2 separate regions of the Homo sapiens genome follow, and region 2 is linked to region 1. The links are contacts of gene promoters, found by promoter capture Hi-C in human tissues and cell types (Jung and others, 2019). All regions are on one chromosome and are shown on one strand. The core of a region is centred on a gene start or on the middle of the fragment in contact, and the rest is flanking DNA. Distances in the headings are between cores, read along the strand shown.

Region 1 (6,900 bases), core at 1,532-4,031:
CGATTCTACTGCCTCAGCCTCCCGCGTAGCTGGGATTACAAGCATGCGCCAATACTTCCGGTTCATTTTTGCATTTTTTTTAGTAGAGATGAGGTTTCACCATGTTGGCCAGACTGGTCTCGAACTCCTGACCTCAGGTGATCTGCCAGCTTCGGCCTCCCAAAGTCCTGGGATTACAGACATGAGCCACCGTGCCCGGCCCACTTTTAATACATTAAAGGGGTCTGTGATAAACATCCTCCTACCGCCCAAAAAAGGTTAAGGACCACTGCAATATGGGCTGTTTGCTTTAGATTTCATTTTAGATAGATGTTGATAACTGTCAGAGCTGTTCTTTTTTGGCCTTCGTTTGTATTCTAAGGAGAGTCCAGGCCTCTCCTTAGAACCCCAGATCTGGAGATCAAGCTGGCTACCGTGCCTTTCTTAATCAGCATCTCTCATACATCTCATTCTGAAATAGAAAACTAAATCTATCTTCTCCCCTAAACCTGTTCCGTTCTTCCTATGTCTCCTACTTCAGTGCACAACCTCAAAAACGACCCTATTGTATAAATCAGAAACCTAACAGTCATCCTAAACCTGTCTCCCCATCCCCTCTCTGCTTCCTTCTCGCTAATATCTCCACATTCAATGGATGTTTTAAAAATATAAACTCAAGATTTTATTGTCTTCATAATAAAAGAAAACATGACACTTAGAACTGGATCACTTGGCCGTTTCTCTTCTTACCTCCTCCCAGTTCAAAATGCTAGCATATTTTAATAGCCAGCACTCTCTTAGAGCTGCAGCTGGGCTCAACGCACTCAAGCCTTGGCACAATTTTCTGTAGTTTTAGCCCTTTCCTGGAAAATCGGCTTAATTTGCCCACGATAGCCACTCTGCTTCCTGTCATAACGCCGCTTTCCCTGGGCATACAGAGAATCCTTCTCCTTCGTGTACAGTGTCACTTTGTGGGGTTGGTGCTTGCCACACTTCTTATAGAAAGTCTGGCGGGTTTTAGGAAACTTCGTAATGTTTGTGTGAGCGCTATCGGCACGGAAAAGCCACATTCAATGGATTTTAAAAAATCTATTTGCCTAATTGTTTCTCAAAATCACCTCCACTTCTTTTCTCAAAGTCACCACTATACTAATTCCAATAAAAAGTGCTTGATTCTTCACTTAAGGAAGGTTTGCGGGCTTAGGTTGGTTCTGTTTCTGACTCCTTGCCCGGAACTGGATGCAAAGAGGACCTGGAAAGTGAAGGTGAAGAAAAGAACTTCAGAGTACTGATCAGAATTAGTCAAGGAATTTCTGCATAATGGCTAAGAATAAATCTATGACGAATCTTTTTTTTTTAATAACTAGATGTAGTGATGCATTTATTTATTTATTTATTTATTTATTTATTTATTTATTTAGACAGAGTCTGGCTCTGTCGCCAGGCTGGAGTGCAGTGGCGAGATCTCGGCTCATCACTGCAATCGCCACCTCCCAGGTTCAAGCGATTCTCCGCCTCAGCCTCCCAAGTAGCTGGGATTACAGACGCGCACCACTACGCCCAGCTAATTTTTGTGTTGTGTGTGTTTTTAGTAGAGATGGGGTTTCACCATGTTGGCCAGGCTGGTCTCGAACTCCTAACCTCGTGATCCACCCACCTCGGCCTCCCAAAGTGCTGGGATTACAGGGGTGAGCCACCGTGCCCGGCCTTAGTGCCGTATGTTTAAAAGTACGCATTTAAACATACTTTTTCAATTTGATTACTAGAGTTCCTCCATTACTATGAATTTTTAACACTAGCAGCTCTCAGAAATGGTTGTATTCCTATTCCTGAGCCAATATAGGTTTAAGTAATAGGGCTGAGCTCATAAATGGAGCAGTAATATTCCATTAGGACACAGAAAAAAGTCAACGTAGATGGCATCAGGACTGTTTATCTTCAGTCTTCCTAAAGTCGATTTTAATTGTTCTGAAAATGAAAGTACGTAGTGGATAGAGATAGGATCTTATACCAAAGGGATTATTAGTGGGGGAACTGCAGTGCCTGAACAGTGTCTGCAAGGAGGAAAAGGGGGGAAAGACTTAAAGTGGCCATTTGGTCCATCAAAGTCTCTTCTGCTATCAATCCCTTGAAATTATGTAAAAGCTAAATGTTATTCTGCATTTAGAAACTATGTTCTTAGTATTATGTACAAACACTATTTTTTAGAATGTAAATACATAAAGAGGCCTGAATTTTACTGAAAAAAAAATCTGTGAAAGATATGGTCTGCTGATAAGTTCTCTTCAGCCCTGACGCCCCTTAGAAGTCCCAAAATCTATGGAACAGGAATTACTCGGGAAATGGTGGTTTCAGTGTAAAAGATGTCATCTACCCTTTCCCTCACTGCACAGATGGTGAAGGGGAAACTCAGAGAGATAAGTCACTTCCCCAAGGTCAGACAGGGTAAAAGTGGACCGGATCTGTTTGGTCCTGAGCCCAAACATTTCGAATGGACATAAGGCTGACAAAGGAACAGTCGGTCCCAGAGCGTCAGGAGTTGAGGTGGGATGGGACCGCAGGGAAAATACTGGGTGGGATGACTTAAACTTCCCGGCACCAGGGGGCGCCAGACACTCTATTTTACCTAAAGGAGACTGGCTTCTACCGACAGGAAGGTCCCTTGCCCCCAACAAAGAGGGCGTCCAATGACGTAAACCAATCCGATTGCTCTGTGCCAGGGCCGGGATTCGCTGGCGTAGCCAGTCAGTGCTGCCCCACAGCCGCGTGCGTCTGACGTCAAGGCAGGGGCGGGATCCGGTTGGAATTTTGGCGGGTTCAGCTGTGAACGAAGAAGGCGTCCCGGCATCGGGTGAGGAGCGCGGGCCCCGGGCGTGCGTGTGACCCTCGGGCGGCGGGGCCGGGGCCGCCTCGCACGTCTCTGCGCGGGTTGCAAGGGGTCCGAGGCTAGAGGCGCGGGGTCCCGGGAGCTCGGGTGGGCGCGATCTGGATTTGGCGGCAGCTTGGGACCGCTCGGAGCTGGCATGGCCGGGCCGGGGGCTGGGAGTTGCTGGCCGTCTACTAAGGAATCGGGTTCTTCCTTTTAAACGCAGCCTTTTAAGTGCTTGCCAAGTGCCTGCCGCCTGGGCTTTCTTTTATTCATTCATTCATTCATTCATTCATTGGTTTCTCGTATTCATGATTTGCCAATGATTATTGAATGCGGACGGTGTGCATGGCTCGGATCACATTTCCGCTGCCTTCACAGCGCTTACAGTTTAAAGGCACGAGCAGGTAGTAAACAAATGCACGACAGTGGACGACTCAGGGTGGTCCAGAAAGTCTCAGAAAGATGAGTAAGTGGAGACCGAAGGGCGAGAAGGACCTGGGGGGAGCTTTCTTCGACAGAGCCTGAGACCTCAAAGCAGCTTAGTGTGTTCCAGAAGGTGGAAGCGGGCTGGCCCGGCTGGAGCATCGTTATGGGTGTCGGGGTGGGTAGAATTGGACGTGGTGGATTGTGGAAAATGTGAGGGAGTAGAAAGCTTGGAAAGAGAGAGAGAATATGAATCATTGCCTCGCAGGCTTTGTAGATTTTTTCTAAGGGCAATGGAAAATCATTAAAGAATTTCAATGAAGGGACCCCCATGATCTGATTTATGTTCCTAAAGGTTACTAAGGAAAGGGAAGATTACCGTGGCTGTCGTATGCAGAACAGATTGCACGGGGACAAAGAGACCAACATAGAAAGCTAACACAGTCATTGGGTTAAAGGTTGACGGTGGCTTGGCCTAGGGTTCTGGCAGTGAAGTTGGAGAGAAGTGGCAGATTTGAGCAGTGTTTTGGAGATGGGACCACAGTACTTGTCAGTGGCCGTGGATTTGAGGGCGAGGGAGGGTGCACAGTTTCATTTTGGGGGAAGGCAAGGCCGGTTACAGACTTGAACGAGACAGTTTGCTCCTAACGCTCAGGAAGCTTACTGTCCAATAGGTTCCCCAGTAGATAGCACAGTGTGTGGCACATGAGGGATCCGTGGAAATGTTGGTTGAATGAATTTTTAAAAAGCGGCCAGGCGCGGTGGCTCACGCCTGTAATCCCAGCGCTTTGGGAGGCCAAGGCGGACGGATCACCAGGTCAGGAGATCGAGACCATCCTGGCTAATACGGTGAAACCCCATCTCTACTAAAAATACAAAAAATTAGCCGGGCGTGGTGGCGGGCGCCTGTAGTCCCAGCTACTCGGGAGGCTGAGGCAGGAGAATGGCGTGAACCCGGGAGGCGGAGCTTGCAGTGAGCCAAGATCGCCCCATTGCACTCCAGCCTGGGTGACAGAGACTCCGTCTCAAAAAAAAAAAAAAGCACCTTTGGGAGTCCAAGGCTGATGGATCACTTGACATCAGGAGTTCAAGACCAGCCTGGGCAACATGGCGAAACCCTGTCTCTACAAAAAACACAAAAATTAGCCGGGTGTGGTAGTGCACGTTTGTAATCCCAGCTACTTGGGAGGCTGGGGCAGGAGAATCACTGGAGCCTGGGAGGCGGAGGTTGTAGTGAGCCAATAGCACCACTGCACTCCAGCCCCAGCGACAGAGCGAGATCCTGTCTAAAAAAAGAAAAGAAAGTACCATAATCACTGTAATTAGTTCCTTGACATTGAACTTGCCAAAGAGCACATGTAAGTTAAATAAGAGCCTAGAAAAATGTATACTTTCTTACTTGCAGTTTAAAAAATAACCTTAAATGAAAAGAGAAGTGCACAAAGTGATACAACTTTGTCTTAATTAGCTACGCTGTTTCTCTGTGCTTTGCTGACTAGTATTGAATCAAAATCCTGATTGTCACTAAGGCTCCACCTAAGTAGAATCATACAGTAAGCTGTCGTGGATAACGCAGATGTCAGGTGTATTACAGTGAATAAAATGAAAGAATAGCCTAATGTAGATCGACCCCAATAATTTGTGTGTGTGTGTGTGTAATTTTTAAAAAAGACAAGGTCTTGCTATGTGACCAGGCTGGTCTCAAACTTCTGGCCTCAAGTGATGCGCCCACCTTAGCTTCCCAAAGTGCTGGTATTACAGGCGTTGAGCCACTGTACCTAGCCAACCCCAATAGTTCTTCCTCATAATTTATCTCATCCACGTAATCTAGTGTGATTTACAAACTGCTCTGCAGCTCAATAACTTTCTGTAACCTTAAACACAAGTAAAAGTGAGCTGCTACATCCAAGGAAGGAGATGGCATTGGCGGTGTGGAGAGAGGAGGTGAGAAATGGTCAGATTCTGGATGAATTCTGAGGTTAGAGCCCATAGGAGTGGTAGGATTCTGGGTTTGTTGGATGTGTGTTGTGAGAGAAAGAGAAGAATTGAAAGTGACATTTCTAATATTGCTTTCACACAGCCAAGATTCTACATTGCTCATCTGGGCATCTGAGCCTCCTTCGAAGTTTCCTGTCACAACTGTCCTCTTGACAGCATGGATGGTAAGACCTGGCAGTTTTCTGTTACTCTGTTTCAAGGAAAACTAACCTTTTGTCCATGGACTTGTTATTTATTCTACCTGTAAAATGGTGAAAATGCTCCCCAGCCCTCAGGTATTGTCTTAGTGGTTCTGAAGCAATCTCACATCTCACAGAGGTCACTGAATGTTACTTGCTTTTATCAGGGGAGATTTCTTCTGGCAACAGAGATTGTCTTTCATAATTACAATAGCTGGTAGGTGTACAGTGGGCCAGGCACTGCTCCAAGATCCTTGTGGAAATTAACTGATTCAGTCCTCAGGCAAACGTATTTTATAGGCAGAAAAACAGGGATGTTTAGTAACTTGTCACAGTTCAAGCTGGCATAGCAGGGCTTTGAACCAGGCAGTCTGACTTCAGAGTTTACATTTGATAATGAAATCTGCTGAAGCGATATTAGTCTAGCTCTGACTTAAGTTTTTATTAATATCATCCTTTCTAATTTTGTTCATTTTGCAAGGATGTGTACAAAATGTTTACCTAGAAAAGAGATGTTGCACTAATTAGCGATCACCTAAAATGATTGTGCTGGGCTGGACGCAGTGGCTCACGCCTGTGATCTCAACACTTTGGGAGGCCGGGGTGGGAGGATTGCTTGAGCCCAAGAGTTCAAGACCAGCCTGGGCAATAGAGTGAGACCTCATTTCTATTTTTAAAAAATTAAAATGATTGTGCTGGTTGTGAAGAGATCTAGTTGCATAATTGAACTCATAATCTGAAACTGGGTTTTTTTAAAAAATTCAAACATATTACACTTTGCCCTTTAAAACAAAACTTGAAATTCCTCACACTGTGATGCACAGTGGACCCCCGTTGTCCCTGAGAGATGTGTTTCCACACTCCCAGCAGATGCCTGAAACCCAGGATGGTACCAAACCCTAGGCATGCTGTGTTTTTTCCTGTACATACATACGTGTGATAAAGTATAATTTATGAATTAGGCACAGTGAGAGATGAACAACAATAATAAAATGGAACAATTATGACAATATACTGTAATAAAAGTTATGTGAATGTGGTCTCTCTCTAAAGTATCTATTGCACTCTCAAAATATCCATTGTACTGTCCTCAACCACAGTGACCATGGAAAATCAAAACCACAGAAAATAAACCCTCAGATAAGGGGTTATTCCTTATGTGAAACTCATTGCCTGATGCTATCATGGTAGTTTCCTGTTTCTTAAAATTGGCAAATTGCCTACAGGGCAGGTTATATAATACAAAGCATCACTTTTTGCTATCAGATTGACATGAAAATAAGAGGTGAATGGATACCTGTTCTCTAAGAAATCATAGTATCTATCTGGAAACAGTATAGGTCAAGAAAGAAGAAATCATAATGTTTAGGCTGGGTGCGGTGGCTCATGCCTGTAATCCCAGCACTTTGGGAGGCCAAGGTGGGTGGATCACCTGAGGTCAGGAGTTCGAGG
Region 2 (6,900 bases), core at 1,360-3,859, 160 kb after region 1:
TCACTGCAACCTCTGTCTCCCAGGTTCAAGTGATTCTCCTGGCTCAGCCTCCCAAGCAGCTGGGATTAAAGGCATGGACCACCACGCCCAGCTACTTTTTTTTTGTATTTTTAGTGAAGATGGGGTTTCACCATGTTGGCCAGGCTGGTCTTCAACTCCTGATCTCACGTGATGTGCCTGCCTCAGCCTCCTGAGGTGCCAGTATTACAGGCAAGAGCCACCACACCTGGCCCCTTTTCTCTCTATCATTCTTAAAACAACGTTAGACAATTTTCAAGGAAAAAAATATCACCTGTTCAAAGTAACCTAGGGGTATTACAGTTAATTTCAAATGCGAAGCTTTCAGTAAAAACTGAATGCTACCTTATTTCCCCCATCACCATATCCTTGCATCAAAAAGAGCACAGGCCACTCAACCTCAGCAAGGCTGCTGGATCCACCCAGGATGGCGGGGACCAGACCCACCGGGAGGAGGAAAGGCACCAGCTGCTGCGGAGGCCGAGGTCAGCAGCATGGAACTCGAACAGAGTGGGGGCCCACTCGGGGTGGGGCTGCTGCTTTCTCGCTGAGCTTTCTGTTAGCCTCACTATTTAGTCCTCAGATGCGCCCAGCATCCTGTACCTGAAGTCTCCGGGCAGGTCCCGTGCATGAGGCCGAACATGTTTCCGCAGGCCTTGCTCACCGCAGCCATCTTGGCCAGCACCGGGAGGTTGTGAATTACAAACGACACCTCGTTCCTCTGCTGCTTGGCCAGGTTCTGCGCATGGCCCAAAATCCCGAAGCCCGTGATGTCAGTGGCGGCGTGGGCATTGAACGTGTGCATGAGTCCTGCAGCTGGGAGAGAGAGGGGGCGGCTCTGAGAAAAAACACCTTTCCTCAACTCAAAAATCTTACGTCCACAATTAATCTGCAACTTCCTTACTTGTCAGGGAGATGACGTATCGGAATAATGAAAACGCAATGTAAAATCAACCAAAGACATAGTGAAATTCCAAAAGTTCTTATTTCACTTTGAGCCACCTGAAAACTATCAGAAGCTTCAATTAATAGTAGTTTTCCAGTAAACTAAAAAAACTATGCAGAGGGATTATGATCTCAGTGGAAGGTAAACCGGCCAAGACCATCCTAAAACCAAAGACCGGCACTTTTTTCCTTTTTTGAGATGGAGTCTCGCTCTGTCATCCAGGCTGGGGTGCAGTCGTACGATCTCGGCTCACTGCAACCTCTGCCTCCAGGGCTCAAGTGATTCTCCTGCCTCAGCCTCCTGAATAGCTGGGACTACAGGTGCGCACCACCACGCCCAGCTAATTTCTGTATTTTTAGCAGAGACAGGGTTTCACCATATTGGCCAGGCTGATCTTGAACTCCTGACCTCATGATCCGCCCGCCCTGGCCTCCCAAAGTGCTGGGATTACAGATGTGAGCCACCACACCCGGCCAAGACCAGCACTTTTTAAGAAGGCCTTGCTCAGTATCAAGGTACTCCCGCGAAAGGTGAATTGCGTGCAAGTTTATTTTTAAATTTCTTTCTTTTTTTTTTTTTTAAGAGACAGAGTCTTGCTCTATTGACCAGGCTGGAGTGCAGTGGCATGATCATAACTCACTGCACTTGGGCTCAGGCAATCGTCCTGCCTCAGCCTCCCAAAGCGCTGGGATCACAAGTGTGAGCCACTGCTCAATAATATTCCATACTACAGATACACTACATTTTGTTTATCCATTCATCCACTCACCTACTATTATTTAATTATCCATTCACCCGACCTATTATTTAATTTTAAAAAAATTTACAGACTTTATTTTTTGGAGCAGTTTTGCGTTTAGAAAGAAATTAAGTGGGAAGTAACAAATCCTCAGTGCTCTGCTCTACCTGATCCCCTTCCTCTCCGATAACCTCTGGCCACCACTGATCCTTTCTGCATCTCTACAGTTTTGCAGAATGTCATGCAGTTGGAATCCTTCTGTATGGAGCTTTTTCAGACTGGCTTCTTTCACTTAGTAATATGCACTTAAGATTCCTCCACATCTTTTCATGGCTTGATAGCTCATTTCTTTTTACTGCTCAATTATATTCCATCATACAGATACACTACATTTTGTTTATCCATTCATCCACTCACCTACTGAAGAAATGAATGGCTGCTTCCAAGTTCTGGCAATTATGAATAATGCTGCTATGAACATTTGTCTGCAGGCTTTTGTGTGAATGTAAGTTTTCAACTTTTTTGAGTGAATATCAAGGAGCACAATCGCTGCATCATATAATAACATATTTAGTTTCATAAGAAACTGCCAAACTGACTTTTAAAGTGGCTGTGCCAGTTTTCAGTCCTACCAGTAATAAATGAGAGTTCCTTCCTGTTTCTCTACATCCTTGCCAGCAGTTGGTATTATCAGTGTTTTTGGGTTTTTTTTGAGACAGGGTCTCGCTTTGTCACCCAGGCTGGAGTGAGGTGGTGCGATCACAGCTTACTGCAGCCTCGACCTCCTGGGCTCAAGGGATCCTCCCAACCTCAGCTTCCCAAGTAGCTGGGACTAAGGCGCAAGCCACCATGCCCAGCTAATTTTTTGTATTTTTTTGGTAGAGATGGGGTTTCACCATGTTGCCCAGGCTATTCTCAGTGTTTTGGATTTTAGCCATTCTAACAGGTATGTGGTGGCATCTCAATCACTGCTTTAATCTACAGTTCCCTATTGACGTACCACACTGAAGGTTTCCTTTTATGCTTATTTGCCATCTGCGTTATCTTCTTTCATGGTGTCTGTCAAGGTCTTTGGGCCATGTTTAAATTGAGTTGTTTTTTATTATTGAGTTTTAAGAGTCCTTTGTATATTTTGGATACCTGACCTTGAACAGGTATGTGTTTGGCAAAATTTTTCTCCCAGTCTGTGGCTTGTCTTTTCATTTCCTTAACAGTGTTTTTCACCGAGCAGAAGTTTTTTATATTAATAAAGCCAAACTTAGCAATTTTTTAATAGATAGTGCTTTTGGTGTTATAAAGTCATCACCAAACCCAAAGCCACCTCAATTTTCTCTGATGTTACCTTCTTCCAGTTTTATATTGTTGTGTTTTATTTAGGTCTACGAATCATCAATATGGTCTGGCTCTGTGTCCCCACCTAAATCTCATCTCGAATTGTAATCCCCACATGTCAAGAGAGGGACCTGGTGGGAGGTGACTGAATCATGAGGGCGGTTTCCCTCGTGCTGTTCTCGTCAGGGTGAATGAATTCTCATGAGATCTGATGGTTTTGTAAGTGGCAGTTTCCCCTGCTCTTCTCTGTCCTGCTGCCTCATGAAGAACCTAGGTGCCTGTTTCCCCTTCACCATCTGCCACGACTGTAAGTTTCCTGAGGTCTCCCCAGCCATGTGAAACTGTGAGTAAATTAAACCTCTTTCCTTTATAAATTACCCAGTCAGCTGGGCATGGTGGCTCACGCCTGCAATTCCAGCACTTTGGGAGGCCAAGGTCAGGAGTTCAAGACCAGCCTGACCAACATGGTGAAACCCCGTCTCTACTAAAAATACCAAAATTAGTGGGGTGTGGTGGCGTGCGCCCTGTAATCCCAGCTACTCCAGAGGCTGAGGCAGGAGAATCGCTTGAACCTGAGAGGCACAGGTTGCAGTGAGCCGAGATCACCCCACTGCACTCCAGCCTGGGCGACAGCGAGACTCCGTCTCAAAAAAAAAAAAAAAAAAAAAAAAAAAAAAAAAAAAAAGAGACTCAGTCTCAAAAAAAAAAAAAAAAAATAATAATAATAATAATAAATGAATAAATAAATTATCCAGTCTTGGCTATTTATAGCAGTGTGAAAACACACTAAACATTCATTTTGAGTTAATCTTCACGAAAGGTATAAGATCTGCATCCAGAATAATTTTCTTCATGTGAATGTCCACTTGTTCCAGCACCATTTGGTGAAAAGACTCTTTTCTCCAATGAATTGCCTTTACTCCTTTGTCAAAAATCAGTTGACTAGGCCAGGTGCAGTGGCTCACGCCTGTAATCCCAGTACTTTGGGAGGCCGAGACAGGCGGATCACAAGGTCAGGGGTTCAAGACTAGCCTGGCCAACATGGTGAAAACCCATCTCTACTAAAAATACAAAAATTAGCCAGGCGTGGTGGCGGGCGCCTATAATCCCAGCTACTTGGGAGGCTGTGGCAGAAGAATCACTTGAAGTCGGAAGGCGGAGGTTGCGGTGAGCCAAGATCCTGCCACTGCACTTCAGCCTGGGCGAAAGAGCAAAACTCCATCTCAAAAAAAAAAAAAAAATCAGTTGACTATAATATGGACCTACCTCTGGATTCTCTATTCTGTTCCTCTGATCTATAACTTTTTTTTTTTTTTTGAGACATGATCTCACCCTGTCACCCAGGCTGAAGCGTAGGGGTATGATCACCACTCACTGCAGTCTCAACATCCTGGGCTCAAGTAATCCTCCCACCTCAGCCTCTCGAGTAGCTTAGACTACAGGAATGCACCAGGCGCAGCTAAAGAGACGAGATGGGGTCTCACTATGTTGCCTAGGCTGGTCTCCAACTGCTGGACTCAAGTGATCCTCCTGCCTCAACCTCCCAAAGTGCTGGATTATAGGTGTGAGCCACTGTGCCTGGCTATAACTTTCTTACAAGTAACAACAAATTACAGAAAATTTTTATTTCCAAATGAATTGTAAAACAATAGGTAAAAGATAATTGTGGTACATTTCTCTGGTAGAACATTATCTAGTCATTAAAAATTATGTGTACTATGGCTCACGCCTATAATCCTAGCACCTTGGGAGGCCAAGGAGGGTAGATCACCTGAGGTCAGGAGTTCGAGACCAGCCTGGCCAACATAGTGAAACCCTGTCTCTACCAAAAATACAAAAATCCGCCGGGCATGGTGATGATGCGTGCCTGTAGTCCCAGCTACTGGGAAGGCTGAGGCAACAGAACTGCTTGAACCTGGTAGGTAGCGGTTGCAGTGAGCCGAGATCACACCAATGGACTCCAGCCTGGGCGACAGAGTTAGATTCTGTCTCAAAAAAAAAAAAAAAAAAAAAAAAAAAGTTTACTAGGATACATAATATGGGAAACATTAGTCATGTCAAAACAACAAAAGCAGGCACTCCAAATACATATACTAACCATTACATAGTGAAAACTTATACTAACCACTACTTTAAAACAACAATAGTAAATCACCAGCCAAACATGAAAAAAAGTCCTGGAAGAATACATAAAAATGCTAGCCGGAGCTGTTTTGGGTGGAGGGACTATGGACAACTTTTTTCTGTACTATTTTCCATTTTCTAAAAACTTTTCTATAATAAGCATGTAATTCTTTTATAGTAGAAAAAATGTATAAAATAAATGGGAAGAGAAGACATATTAAAAAACGCTTTCTAAACATAGTGTGCCATTGTAAACTGTGGTGAACACTTTGGAAGACAGTTTGGCACTATCTATAAAAGCTGAGCCAGTACTGATCTCTTACACGTGCCTCAGAGGGCTGGGCCAAGGAAGTCCATAGCAGTCGCCCCAGTGTGAAACAGGAGAGCAGAGAAGCCAGTGGAAAAATCAACACAGCCAAAAGGAATCTACTACAGCTACATATAACAAGGAGACTCTCAGGAACAATGGTGAACAAAACAAGTAAAAAAAATGCAAAACTAATTTGCTGCTTAAGAACACAAGGGCTGTGCAATAAAAATATTCTAAAATGCAAGAAAATAAACACAAAATTCAGTGGTTACACCTAAGCAGGAATGCAGGGGATGGGTGGGAGTGGGGGCACTTCTAGACTTCCAAGGTTATGTTCTGGAAATAGCTCCAGTATCTTAAACTTTCTAAATTTCCATTCTGAATGGTTTGCTTCCAAATCTTACATAGGTAACCCACACAAACGCTTTCTAGAAATAGTTCCTCTGGTATGTCAGAAGTTAGGACTTCCTTCTTAATTATAAAGCACTGTAAGTCAGGGACCATCTGCAGTGATCTATGGAATGCCAACCTGGTACCAGGAGAAGACGGTCTGTAGTCACTGGCCAAAAATCTGGCCACCTACCCTGAGACAGTATGTGGCCAGAAAAGCCTAAGACATTTACTGTCTTGGACCCCTGGGACCGAAGCGCCCTTCCCACCTGTCATACCTGTCCTGTTGAGCCTCGCCATGTTCATCATCGCCTCCTGGTAGGCCAGCTCTACATCTTCTTGGGTGACCACTAGTTTAATCTTATTCCATTTCTCAGGCTGATAATAGAAATGTAGGTGAGGGAGAGAAAGAGAGGAAAATGTGATTAATCTTTACTTCTAGCAACTGAGAAAAACAGCAACTTTTTCTTATTTAACTTCTAGGGACTTTAATTCAGAAAACTGAATTTTCCAACTCTGGTTTTTCTGTGGATAGTATTTTAGGTGTCCATTAGACCTGTCAGCATGGCGTCTTTTCTGTTCTCATCCCACATTTCTGTAATTAAGTGCTGTGATTTATTGGGTATGTGTAGTCTAGCGGGACACACGGCGGCACTGCTGTACATGCAGTGTAGTGTCCTGCTAGTGGAGAAGGGCTCCCCCATCCGTGACACTCCCTGCCTCACCTGCTTCCAGCTCCCTGCTAGCTCAGGCCTGGGAGGTGGGGCTGGAAGGCACCTCTGCGCAACATCCCCGCAGTGGCCTTCTGCTCTGCTCCCCATCACAGGGGGAGGAGGGAAAAACTGCTAAAGAACGTGGCAGCCTTAGAGAATTTCTCTACCCTGCGACATCAAGCTAAGATATACCAGGTTGATGAAAGACGTGTAATTATTGATTATTCTCTTTCAACTGTTTCTCAGGACTGGTAGTTTCAGATGATAGTTGTAGAAATTAAATGCACCATGATATGTGAGAATATACCCCAATCTTATTAATTTGTGA

What was found. The method cuts DNA at HindIII sites, captures the fragments that hold promoters and counts their contacts. A contact is called where the count stands out against the background at its distance.
Region 2: a contact is called between a fragment that was not itself captured here and the fragment with the promoter of MCM10 in region 1, in 1 of the 25 tissues and cell types used here (liver).

The regions. Positions count from the first base shown.
Region 1 is chr10:13,158,777-13,165,676 of GRCh38, forward strand. It overlaps MCM10 (minichromosome maintenance 10 replication initiation factor), which reads left to right and starts at 2,782. Exons shown (of 20, transcript NM_018518.5): 1 at 2,782-2,830; 2 at 5,352-5,433. The coding sequence starts at 5,427. It also overlaps the pseudogene RPL36AP36. RefSeq lists silencers at 2,531-2,844, 2,867-3,046. The HindIII fragment of the contact is 5,218 bases long and covers 1-3,715 here.
Region 2 is chr10:13,322,214-13,329,113 of GRCh38, forward strand. It overlaps SEPHS1 (selenophosphate synthetase 1), which reads right to left. Exons shown (of 9, transcript NM_012247.5): 7 at 6,138-6,237; 8 at 622-834. Among named protein-coding and RNA genes, the nearest start is that of SEPHS1, 23 kb to the right of the region's middle. The HindIII fragment of the contact is 3,843 bases long and covers 689-4,531 here.